2 separate regions of the Homo sapiens genome follow, and region 2 is linked to region 1. The links are contacts of gene promoters, found by promoter capture Hi-C in blood cells and fetal thymus (Javierre and others, 2016). All regions are on one chromosome and are shown on one strand. The core of a region is centred on a gene start or on the middle of the fragment in contact, and the rest is flanking DNA. Distances in the headings are between cores, read along the strand shown. Region 1 holds the start of GFOD1-AS1 (GFOD1 antisense RNA 1). Region 2 has its middle 37 kb from the start of SIRT5.

Region 1 (6,266 bases), core at 1,876-4,375:
AAATGTTAAATGAATGCCTTAAAATAGGTGCTAGGCAAGATGGGGGCACACAGTGCTGAGACAACAGAAGGGTATGTAGGGTGGGGGGTTTGAGGGAGAGGAAGCGGTAACACTTGGGCTGAGTATTGAAGGGCGAACATGGAAGGAGACCTCAAGGGACAAGGAAGTTCCTGACAGAGACCTGGACATGTGCGCCAACAGGGCCCATTCAAGGAAACCCCAGCAGGGTGGGCTCGCTGAAGCCCTTGGGTTCGGGAATGGCCACCAGGACGTGAGGCTGGGCTCACTTCTTCAGGATGTGAGGCTGGGCATGTCACGCCAATCAGCTGGGGCTTTTCCTGAAAGGGGAAACGATGACATGACCAGGTCTCTAGCACTGCCAGATACTCCATACCTGGCAGCAGTGTAGATAGTGGCTAGAGGCAGGGTTGGGTGGGGTGGACTGGAACCTAGTTCAGAAACTACGAAAGGACCTGACTTCTATGGGGAACAGACACAGAGAGTTTCAGATGGCATCAAACAGGTTTGGGAACCGATTCCAGGGCTGGGATGGAATAAAGGACAACTCCAACAGTCTGACCTGGGCTGCCATGATCTATGGCAGAGGAACAGGTACAGCTGATGGAAGAGGAAGAAATGACTCCGGGGGAGGTAGAGTGCTGGGTTCAAATCTCTAGCTGTAGGTCTAGGAGCAAAGTGACTCAGGTCTCTGAATCTCAGTTGCTTCATTTGTGAAATGGAGCTAATATCTATCTTAGAGGATTATTTTAGTCATGAAATGAAATGCTTTATACACAGCACTTACCATGCTGCCTGGCATACAGTATGTACTTAATAAGAGGCAGCCTTGGACAGTGTAGAAAGTACACTTGGTAGAAATGCCTCTACAACAGAGGAATGCCTCATTCACAAAGGTAGGGATTTTGAGGAAATTTTTAAAAATTAAAGGAGGATGTGTGTGATTCAATTGATCTGAAGTTTCATTTCACTGTGGTCCCTAGACCACACTTTGTAGGGTCCCTACAAAGTAGGGTCCCTAGCCCCTTACTTTGACAGGCCTGTGACCAGTTATGAGTGTGGATCGAAGGCTACAGACCTGTCACCCTCACTGGGCAAGCAATTCAAAGTCCAGGCCTTTGCTAAAAGGACAATTTACCAGGATGAGTCAAAGTAGCTAGTTTCAATTCCAGGCAAACACTCGTATCTATACACTCCCAACAGCCAGATCAGCCTGATAACTGTTTGGGGTTTTTCACTTCCTACGTTCTATGTGTTGAACCTTCAACAGTGACTGTAAAGCAAACCAAGACGACCACCCCACTGTGCACTCGCAGGGGCACCCTGCAAAAGAAGGAGTTAAAAAAAGAAAGAAGAAAGAAGCTCAAAACCTACCCTAAAAACATGAACAAAACCCTATTCTGTCATCACCATTACTAAACTAGGTCTATTATGCCTCTTATCGCTGGTTTTGAAGAGGTAACAGACATGTCTTGTTAATTAAAGTCACAGGGATATTTGAAAAATAAGAACAGAAGAAGTATCCAGAAATGTCTAATTTGTGTCACATCTCTTGAAACCAGAGCCCCCAGACACTTTCATGGCCATGGTCCCAGAGACAGCCAGAAAACAAGGTCATCCTTGTTCCCCAAATTGCCACCCTCCTGCTCTAGGTTTGCTCTGTGGGTCTGAACCCAGGACAGGAACTGCCATCTTTATGGTGGAGAAACGATGTTAACAACATGGTCTTTCAGATATGACCAGTCCTAAGCTCTCCAGTATACGCAGGGCTCATCAGGGACCAGTTTTGTACAAATTGCACTAATAGAATTATACCATAAGATCGTTATAAGATATTTGATATGCAAAGAGCCAATGTAAACAAGGGAGTTATCCACCCAACATACATGTTCCATTAAACAGAAAATAAATATTAGCATTCAGTTCAATGGCATTCAGTTCAAGGCCAAAGAAACAGGCCACAAAGGGCAGACACTTAATAAAATTAACTGACAATTAAAACTGACAATGTGGGCAGCCTCCTTAGGAATTCTATCAGATGTTGCATCTGAGTCAATAGCCAAATGGCCTGATGAAAATGCCTTTCTATGGAGAAAGAGTTTTACATTCTGTTCATAGCTCTTCGAAGACAGAATTAAAACACACGTATATTTCACCTACCCTGAATCCATACCTATTTTTAACAAATAAAACAGTCTTTCCAAGACTACATAACTTCCGGCTGGTTTCTGGATGTTGTCTCTGTTCCTTCGCAGCTCCTCCCTTCTAATCTGTTCTACTATTCGCTTCATCTGGTTATAAGCTTTGTTCTTGTTATAAGCTTTGTGTTTTTCCTCACCAATAGAAACTTCAGCTTTCAAAGGTGAGCTGCTCATTTTCTTGGAATTGTAAGATCAAGCAACCTTCCTGGGATTGTTTTAGGTTACGTGCAAGAACTGATGATGAACAAAACATGCCCTTCTCTTTCCCCTGAGCATAGGCTGAGAGGCTGCTACTCTGTCCTCAGAGATTGTTCAGACTGCCTGGGAGTTGAGGGGAGCAGGGACCAGATGGTGAGGCACCCTGAACTCATCTCCAGCCCACGGGTCAACACTGTGCCTTCCGAAACTATTCCTGAAGGCGATTAGGGAGGGCCTTTTCTCATGCAAAGCATCCATGCCTCTGGAGCTACTGCGCCCATCCTCCTAAAAATTTAAAATCTATTACTCCAAATTGGGGCAGAAGACATTTCCCGGGAGGCTGCAGTCAAAAGTTAAAACCCCCTGGTTTTACCAAATCAGTCTTTACTAACCTATGACGCCTCTGAAAACATTCTAATACATCATCACCCCCATCCAACCACTCCCACCGTCCTTGCCTCCAGCGCAGACGAAATAATTCCAGCCGATGGTAACATCTGCAATCTCACGCTAAACTAACTCACAGCAGAAAGAAACAAACGACCCTAGCAGGGCGCCACCGCTGCTGAAGGGCAGGTCCTCTATCGCACCCAAGAAAACCCGACACACGTGTGCGGCCTTTTATTCAGGCGTTTCTGGGCGCGCACTCGCCTCTCCCAGGCGCGCGCGCGCACAACCCTCCTCCACCCCCCCATCCCCCCCCCCCACACACACACACTTGGACACTACACACACAGCTGAGGAGTAACTTTCCTCTTCTCGCGGAGCACCCTATCCCCTATTATCGGCATCTGATCTTCCTAGTTCGGATCCCCGGAACACACGCCTTCTCCAGCCTGCAATCTACACACGTGGGGAAGCGCGTCCAAGTGGTGCCAGGAGGCAGGAGGGAAGCGCAAAGGTGGGGAAGGCCGGGGACGAGGAAGGAGGGAGCTCTGAGTCGGATCTGGGATCTCAGATCCCCGGGGCAGCGTAGATGCAGGGTAAGCTTCTGGGATGCGGAGAGGGAAAGGCAGGGGGGAAGGAACCTAGAGAAGGTTAAAGGGCGGGGGTGGGACGGAGGATGCGGGGTAGGGGTCGCTCACCTAGGGTTTTGACAGCGATCTGTCTGGTGAGGGGCGGCGGCAGGTTAATGCACACCAAGTCCACGTCCTGATGCAGCAGCACCTCATCAATGCGGCTAGTGTAGAAGGGGACACTCATCTCCTTGGCCAGCTCCTCCGCTTCTTCCTGCGTGCGGCCCCACAGCGCCTTCACCGCGAAGCCCTCGTCTTTCAGCAGCGGGATGATGACACGGGCCGTGAGGCTGGTGCCGAACACGCCCACCCCGGGAAGCATGGCTGCTCAGAGCCGCCTGGTTCTGCTTCTGCTCGGATCTCCAGTCCAACGCGCGCACACACCCACCTCTAGCCAGTCCTGCACCCCGCTCCTGTAGCCAATCTAGCCGCGGTGCGCCAGCCGCCGTGCACCGGGCAAGGCGCCCGGGTGCCCAGAGCGCACCGAGCTGCAGGCGGAGCAAGCTCGGGGCGCCTCAGAACGGTGACTGCGGCAGTGTCCGCCACGCGGGGCTCGCGTCCTTCCCGGAGTCGGCGGCAGGGACCCCCCCAGGGCGCCGGAGGCTTCGAAGCCCCCTGGAGCCCCGGCTCAGGCTGCGCTCCCGCGGCAGCGCCAGTCCGCTGCGTGCGCCCCGCCAAGGCCGCTCCATGGCCGGCTCATCCCCGCGGCCGCGCCGCCGCAGCCCGGGACCGGCTCTCTCCCGCGTCGTTTGCGCAGCCGGCGAATCGCACAGACAAACGTCTACACCCTGCCAGAGCACGGAACCGCTCCGCGGGGGAGTCTCCTTTCTTCCTAGCTCTCCGTTGGGAATGAAATAATCCCGCGGCCGCCAGGAGGCCGGCTAAGGATGCGGCCCGGAGCGCGCCGGACTGGGATCCCGAGCTGCAGCGCGGCAGCGGCGGCCACGACCCGGCGCCAGCCTCCTCATTCTGCTGCCATGTTCGCTCGCCTCGCGGCTCGGGCGGCCTCGGCCCCAGGCCGGCTCAGGCTCTGGGATCCCGCGGGGACGAGGGCGGAGTTGGCGAGTTTGGCTGTCAGCGGCCGGTGTTCCTGCACCGCCCTCGCTGCAGCGCCGCGCGCCATTGGCCGCCGCGCGCCGCCCCCGCCCCCGCCGCCGCCAGCTCCGGGTGCGCGCTGCGCCCGGGCCCCGGGAGCCCAGCCCGGCTCCTCCCCGGCCCCGCCCAGGCCGCCTCGCCCGCCTCCTGCCCCTCCGCTTCTTCCCTTTCTTTGCCCTCACCATCTCCTTCTCTTCCCTGCTTCACTCCAAACCCCGCCCCAACCAAGCAAATACATCTATCTAGGCAGGACGCGCCCTAATAGGTTAGTCGCCTGTCCCTTGGAAGAGAGCAGTGGGCGCCTTGGCCTGGGGTAGGTGAGGGGACCCGGCGAGGTGCGAACAGCCGATAATAATAACCTCGGCTCCCGGAGCGTTTCTTGCGTGCTGAGCATCATACTAACGCCTTTCCAGGTATTGTCCCTTTTAGTCCTCGCAGCAACCTAAGGTTATTGTAAACCCATTTTACCAGTGATGTGAATGAGCCGCAATGAAGGCTAAGGGACTTGCGCAAGGTGACATATATAAGCAACAGGCCTGCGATTGGAATCCAGGCCCCAGAGTCTGGGCACGGAACCGCAGACTTCTACGGTCTCCTTCCAAGCTAGCCTGCTCCAATCGCGCGCCCCCGCTCCGGCCGCGCACGCACGGTTCAGCCGCCTTCTTCCAAGACAGTCCAGTCTTGGCGGGCTCCCATCTGCCTCCCACCTCCCCCGCCCCTAGGCCCATGCCCGCCCCCGCGTAGACGCTGTGGTGTGTACGGCCGCAGCGGGGCAGGGGGTCTCCGAGGCCGCTGCGGCACGTGCGTCTCGTGTCTAGTTTCGAGACGGATACGTCGCCCTGGCCACATGCCACGCCCGCCTCTTGCTTCGGCTCCTGTTGCCGTCGCCACTTACCGCAGCCTTTACTTCTCCCAGCTTGCCCCCACCTCCACCACCCTGCACCCTTCCCAGGCCCTCGAGGGGGCACTGAGGAGGACTGGCCAAGGCTGGCCCCGCACCTCTGGAGCCATGGGGACTCTGCGTCTGTCTGGTTTTCCGCCATATCCTTGGCACCTGGCACACTGCCTTGCCCTGTATGTAGTAGGCGCTCAATAAACATTTGCTAAATAAATGTATGCATATTCATCGAATGCCCGCTTCGCACCCATTTGGTGCCGGGAGAGGGGACTAAAAAGTGAAAGGCACGTCTTCTAGCTGAAGGTCTCTGGAGAGGTCATGGGTCAGGTCATGTTCATCTCCTGTCTTCAGCACTGGGCTCAATGTAGCACATGGTCTGCCGCAACACGAGTGGAAAACGTGATACTTGCAAGAGTTTAAAACAACTTGTAACAACTGGCAGTGAGGCGGGGCGCGTGGAGAGAGCAGGATACCAAAAAAGCTGTGTGTGGCAATGCGGGGTGGAGGCTGACCTAGGGCATTAGAAGAAAGGCACAAAGGACACAGTGCTGGGTGGCTGGCAGCAGCCTGGGGAGGACTGAGAGACAAAGAGGGGTGTTGCCCTCAATACTAACAGGCTTCTTTTGAGCAGGGGTTTTGTAAGAACCAAGGCAGGAACGCCTATCTGGGCACAGGGGCAGGCAGTGGTGTCAGACCCAAGGGGCTGGATACATCACAGGCTTGTCACATGTCAGAGATGGCCAGGCTTTCAGGGAGCAGAGGATGTGCAGTAGTGGTCGGAGCACAGCTAGAGCCACTGGCGTTGACTTCTGGCTCTGCCATTTACTAGCTGTGGGACCT
Region 2 (6,266 bases), core at 2,171-4,670, 51 kb after region 1:
GAGCCGAAATCATGCCATTGCACTCCAGCCTGGGCGACAAGAGCAAGACTCTGTCTTAAAAAAAAATTACGTTATAATTCTATCTCATTAGGTCCTGCAAACGAGAGGCAGGATGAGTTCTCACCCAAAAGAGCACATTTATGTCAACTCTGGAGTTCACCAATGCATTGAATAAATCGAAGCTCCCTAAAAGGCTCACCTAATATTCTGAATTATGTTTTTATCAAAATAAATATAAAACACTCCTGCGCTAGGAAAGCTAAAGTGCCGACATATATTGATACAAACCAGGGCTCTCTCAAGCAAACCGAGTACACTTCTGTTGGATCATAGAGGGACTAGGGCTTTAATTCTTATTTTCCCCAAAGAGGTATTTATATGCACCACAGGTGGAGAGTGGCAAAGGTGCAGGGGCCAGGAGAGGCCTTGGAGGAGCAGGGAGCAGCCCGACGTGGCTGGCATGGTTGGGGCTGGGCAGGAGAAGAGGCTGATGATCCAACAAGGCTGTGCATGCCCAGATAAGGAGCTTGGACATCTCTCACAGGAAATCCGGAGCCCTTGAAGGTCAGGGCAATGCAAGGACCCTTGGCCCTTCCAGCTGCCAACAGTAGATGCAAAGCAAAGTCATGGAATGATGAGAAAGTGCAGAGTAAGTGAGCTCAGTCTCCACTGCTCAGTCACTGCTCAGCTCTGAGAGGCAGGGTTTGTCACCTCACTTCTGGAGTCTCAGGTACCTGGTGAAGTGCCATAAAGGCAGGGATGTCAATCAACTATTTAGCTGCCAGTGAAAAATAAGACATTCTCAAACATGAAACATATAGTAATATGTAAAGGTACATCATGTATGTGATACACACTAACCTTGCAGACTTACTTAAAACAATCATGAATCATGTTCTGTATTCTCCATTCCTTCATCTGATAATAGTAATTCTTGGTAATGAGAAAAATACCCAGGCAGGTAATCAATTCAATGGCTGTCAGTTGTGTTTTCAATTTTCACTAGACTCTGCCCAGCCTATTTAAGGCACTTCAAAAATTAAATCTTTTCCTGAAAAGGTGAATTTTCAGTAAAGAACCAAATAAACTTTCAAATTGTATTATCTGAACATTATTGTTACGGCAGCTGGAATTCTTGATAAAAATTCCAGGAAACCTAGTTGTGAGGAGAAATGAATACTGCACATTGGGAGATAACCTGGATCACTGTGAATCACTCTGGACTTTAAAAAAAAAAAATCCTGATGATCCATCACATTCCAGGCCATTTATATGCAAGCCAGTTGGCTCAGCATCTCTGGGGGAGGACCTGGGCATCAGTACTTATTTCCTAAAACTCCCAGGTGTCTTCAGTGAGCAGGTGGCAACCAAGCTGAATATAGAATCACCTGGAGATTTTTTTACACTACTGACATCTGCCTGCACACCCCCAGCCCACCCCCTGCCCCCGCCGCCCCTGCACACACCACACCAGAGATTCTGATCCAGTTGATCTGAACAGGGACCTGGCTTTTCTTTTTTTTCTTTTTTCTTTTTTTTTTTTTTTTTTTAAGACAGAGTCTCACTCTGTCACCCCAGCTGGAGTGCGGTGGCCCAATCACAGCTCACTGCAGCCTTGACTTCCCTGGATTCAGGCGATCCTCCCACCTCAGTCTCCTGAGGAGCTGGGACCACAGGCGTGCACCACCACATCCGGCTAATTTTTGTATTTTTTGTAGAGATGGAGTTTCATCATGTTGCCCAGGCTGGCTTTGATCTCCTGGGCTCAAGCGATCTGCTTGCCTTGGATGGGCATTGTTTAAGGTGCTGGCTGAGGAGTCAGGGTTGAGGTTTTCTGGCCTAAAGCGACCTCTCTAATAAATCAGTCCAGGCCAATGAACCACCTCTGGATCTTGCCTTTCCCACATTCTCCAATCTTTTGGCAGCCAGCAATGACATGGTGAGGTGAGACTCTACTTTTTCCCTTTCTAATTTGCAAATGAATTAAACCCATCACCACCTTGAGCTGTTAACCATTTTTACCTTGGTGCAAATTACCTGTGGGGCAGCAGCCCTTTGGGAATTTATCCCAGTTGATTGTTAGCTGGTATCAGAAATGTATCAACCCAATTCCTTCCTCTGAATCATTCCCTCCCTTCTTGGAATCCACAGAACTTTCTCATTGGCTCATACGCAGTTCACCTGTGGTATAGTTAGCTAAGGGTGCAGTGGGAGAGTGGCCTTGAACAAACCAGGTATGTGGCAATCCCCAAAAGTGGTTGGTTGTAAGGACGAATGAAGGGAAAGATACCGTTGTGAGTGGAGGTGCAAGAATATGAAGAAGTTTGCACCCTGTGCAGTAATAGGAATTGTGTATCAATCACTTGAGCCTTTAGAGAAGTTAAGTTGCTTGCCCAAGGCCCACAAGGTAGATGACCACATCTGGATTCAAATCCAGGTATCTATGAATCCACTGTTTGTTCATTTTTCTCTGAGTCGCATTGGCATCTTGTAGAAATAGGCCCTAAATCATATATTTGAAACCCCTGGGGCTAGAGTGGCTTGGAATTTAGAACATTTTGGATTTTAGAAGGGTAAATACATTAATATCTGTACTACAAAACATATAAAATTTATCCCAAATGGTATTTAAAAAAAAAAGCCTCCCATCAGCCTCCTGTCAATTCAGAACAGATCGTACCAGCAAGTTTGGGGTTTGCAGAGCTTTTTTTGGATTTGGGAAATGCAGATAAGAGATTGTGAACATGAGCATCAAAGAAAACAATTGCACATAGTGGCAAACATCTACTGGACGGTGAATGTTTGCCAGGCTTTCTGCCAAGCTCTGTACATGTGCGGCCCTCGCAACCAGCTTGCAAGGTAAGTGCTATTGATTACTATCCCCATTCTAAAAATCAGGAAACTGAGGCATGGATGGGCTAAATAACTTGTTTGAAGTCATATGACTAATAAATCCACTCATTTGTTCCATCTCCATTGAAGTTGAAAGCTTATAGTTGAAAAATTTTGTAGAATCATCCACTCTAGAGAAAACCTTTTTTTCTTATTGAATGATTAAAATATTTCCAGAATGACTGGCTGGCACTGCACTCTGATTTCAAAGTCTTTGCTTTACAGCTTTAAATTTGCCTTCTCTTTTTATTGCCTGTCTTGTTTTAACAGCAGCCAATTCACACAAAACAGCTGTAGGTTGTCTCCTTTGCACACTGATAAAAGTCTCAGGAGGTTTCAGGGGAAACCTTGTGCAAAGGACTGGCTCCATCAAAATGAGACCCACTTCCAATAAAGCAGGATACAATGTGGATTTCTATTAAAACAGTGTTATAAAATTAAAGTTGGATGATTGAGGAAGGCTTTTGCTTAGTAATGAGACTCTGTGGGGATGCAGAAGTTGGCCATAAACAGTGTGTTTTGTGGGGATGCAGAAGTTGGCCATAAACAGTGTGTTTTGTCTTCTGCATAACTCGGTTTCCTCTGTTCTGATAACCTGTACCTTCCCAAAGCAATCTAATAAAATTTACAGGAGTGGTTTCCTACTACTGTGCCAAACATTGTTTAGAATGCACTTTAAATACTCTCAAAGATTTAAAAGAAAAGCATCGATGTTCTAATAATTATGAAAACACATCCTCAGAATCCATATAACCATTCAAAAATCAAGGAGAACAATGTCCTTTGTTTAGTTAACCTTTCACCTTTTTTGCCTCATTAGAACTTAAAACTATTAGGCATAATATGCCTAATATAAAACATATATAACCCCAGTGACATGCATTTATTTTGTGATTAGCTGAATTTTTTATTATTTCAGAATATTAGAATATTGTTGTTTTTTTCACAAATATGTTCTTTAAAGCTTTGTTGTTATCTTAAGAGTGATTTTATTAAGCCTGTGTAAAGAGAATGTCCAGATAATGAAATCCAATAGGAAGAAGGGTGTGTCTATAGGAATTGAGTGTAAAAGCGGCTTTGAACCAATTTATTCTTAAATAAATAAGTGTCCTTATGCTGGGTTGGCTTGCCCTACAACATGGGCTGCTTTCTTCTTCACAAAGCTCCCCCTGCTGTTTAATAAAGTCTAACTTTCCCCAATTCTTTCTGAACCTGAAGTGCTTCTAATGATCCTACAAAGTTATCTACTGATGCCTCACATTTTATTACCAAAGCTAGAGCATTTGGCCAAATTTTGCAAAATGTTGAGAACGCAGTAATTCTTTAACAAATGCTTGTTGAATGAATTAGGATATTCCTGTCAACCTCACACCATAAGCCCGGCAACCAAGACAGAAAGAGGTGATGTAGCTCTCAGCTTTCACCTACTGTCCATATGACCTTGGGCAAGTCACGGCACTTCGTTCATTTATTTATTTATTCAACATTTATTGATTGTTAATCCATACCAGGCACCATGCCAAGTGCTAGGGACACAATGGTGGGCAGATAGGTGTGCTTTCTACCCTCACAGACCTTCTGAATCAAGGGGCTCTCAAACCTCGGTGTGTGTCAGATTCACTCAGAGGCCTTGATAAAATACACATGGCTGGGCCCCTCCTCCAGAGTATCTGATTCAGTGGGCTGGGGTGGGGGTCTGAGAATTTGCATGTCTAACAAGTTCCCAAGTGAGGGTGATACTGCTGGTCTGTGGGCCACACTTTGAGAACCGCTGGCTTTAAGAGGAACAGTCACAATAGTATGATAAATGCTGTGATGAGTCCTGGGTGAAACAGGGACACAGAGCAGAGGATTAATCTAGTCTATCGGGATAAAGAAAGTTTTCCCAGACACATGCGTTTAATCAATCCTAAGACCTTAACATCTCAGGCATTGGGATACAAGAAACACTGATCCTTCCTTTTTACACTTTAACATCTGCAAGATCACAATGCATTTGATGAAATACTGTAACAACATTTAAGCAGAAAGGGTAATCAAGACAATGTGGTGCTGGCACACGGAAACATGCATAAATCAATGGAATAGAATAGAGTCCAGAAGTAAATCCATATACCCATGGTTAATTGATTTTTGACAAGGGTGCTGAGATCGTTCAATGGGAAAAGGGCAGTCTTTTCAACAAATGGTGTGGAGATAACAGGATAGCTACATGCAAAAGAATGGAGTTGGATCCTCTACCCAAACCATCTCCAAAAAATTAACTCAAAATGGGTCGAAGACCTAAATGTAAGAGCAAGAGCTATAAAACCCTTGGAAGAAAATAGAGGTAGATCTTCATGACCTTAGATGTGGCAAAAGATTCTTAGATATGACAACAAAATCATGAAAAACAAAAGAAAAAAATAGATAAATTACATTTCATCAAAATTAAAAGCTTTTATGTTTCAAAGGACACCACCAGTAAAGTGAAAAGATAACCCACAGAATGGGAGAAAATGTTTGCAAATCATACATCTGATAAGGGACTTGCATCTAGGATATTTAAAGAACTCTTATGAAGACAATCCAATCAGAAATGGGTAAAATATCTGAATACACTCTTCCTCAAAGAAGATATACAAGTGGCCAAAAAGCACATGACAAAATGCTCAGCATCACTAGACACCAAGGAAATGCAAATCAAAACCACGATAATACTTCACACACACTAGGATGATTATGATTTTTAAAATGGCAGACAATAACAAGTGTTAGCAAGATGTAGAGAAATTAGACATTTGCACACTGCTGGTAGGAATGTAAAATGGTGCAGCTGCTTTAGAAAACAGATGGTAGTTCCTCAACCAATTAAACAAGAGTTACTATATGACCCAGCAATTCCACTTCTAGATATATATCTAAGAGAAATAAAACCATCTGTCCACACAGAAACTTGTACAAGAATGTTTACAGGGCCGGGTGCAGTGGCTCATGCCTGTAGTCCCAGCACTTTGGGAGGCCGAGGCAGGTGGATCACCTGAGGTCAAGGGTTCAAGACCAGCCTGGCTAACACGATGAAACCCCGTCTCTACTAAAAATACAAAAATTAGCCGGGCATGGTGGCGGGCGCCTGTAATTCCAGCTACTCAGGAGGCTGAGGCAGGAGAATTGCCTGAACCTAGGAGGCGGAGGTTGCAGTGAGCCGAGATCATGCCACTGCACTCCAGCATGGGCTACAAGGTGAAATTCCATCTCACAAAAAGAATGTTTACAGCAGCATTATTTGTAATAGCCAAAAGATGAAAACAACCCAATTGTCCAGGGTTACACATGGACAAATGGAGAACCAAAATGAGGCATGGAATATCATTCCACTATAAAAAGGAATAAAA

What was found. Contacts are between HindIII fragments. The CHiCAGO score rates a contact against its expected background, and 5 or more counts as called.
Region 2: a fragment that was not itself captured here is called in contact with the fragment with the promoter of GFOD1-AS1 in region 1 in 3 of 17 cell types (endothelial precursors, megakaryocytes and total B cells); the score reaches 7.1 in endothelial precursors.

Annotation. Positions count from the first base shown.
Region 1 is chr6:13,483,136-13,489,401 of GRCh38, forward strand. GFOD1-AS1 (GFOD1 antisense RNA 1) reads left to right here and starts at 3,126. Exons shown (of 2, transcript NR_046709.1): 1 at 3,126-3,318; 2 at 3,546-3,636. It overlaps GFOD1 (Gfo/Idh/MocA-like oxidoreductase domain containing 1), which reads right to left and starts at 4,465. Exons shown (of 2, transcript NM_018988.4): 1 at 3,503-4,465. The coding sequence starts at 3,755. RefSeq lists enhancers at 1,012-1,081, 3,717-3,826, 5,387-5,516 and silencers at 3,653-3,816, 3,957-4,436, 4,457-4,836, 5,217-5,326. The HindIII fragment of the contact is 1,067 bases long and covers 2,337-3,403 here.
Region 2 is chr6:13,534,214-13,540,479 of GRCh38, forward strand. No RefSeq gene overlaps it. Among named protein-coding and RNA genes, the nearest start is that of SIRT5, 37 kb to the right of the region's middle. The HindIII fragment of the contact is 867 bases long and covers 2,988-3,854 here.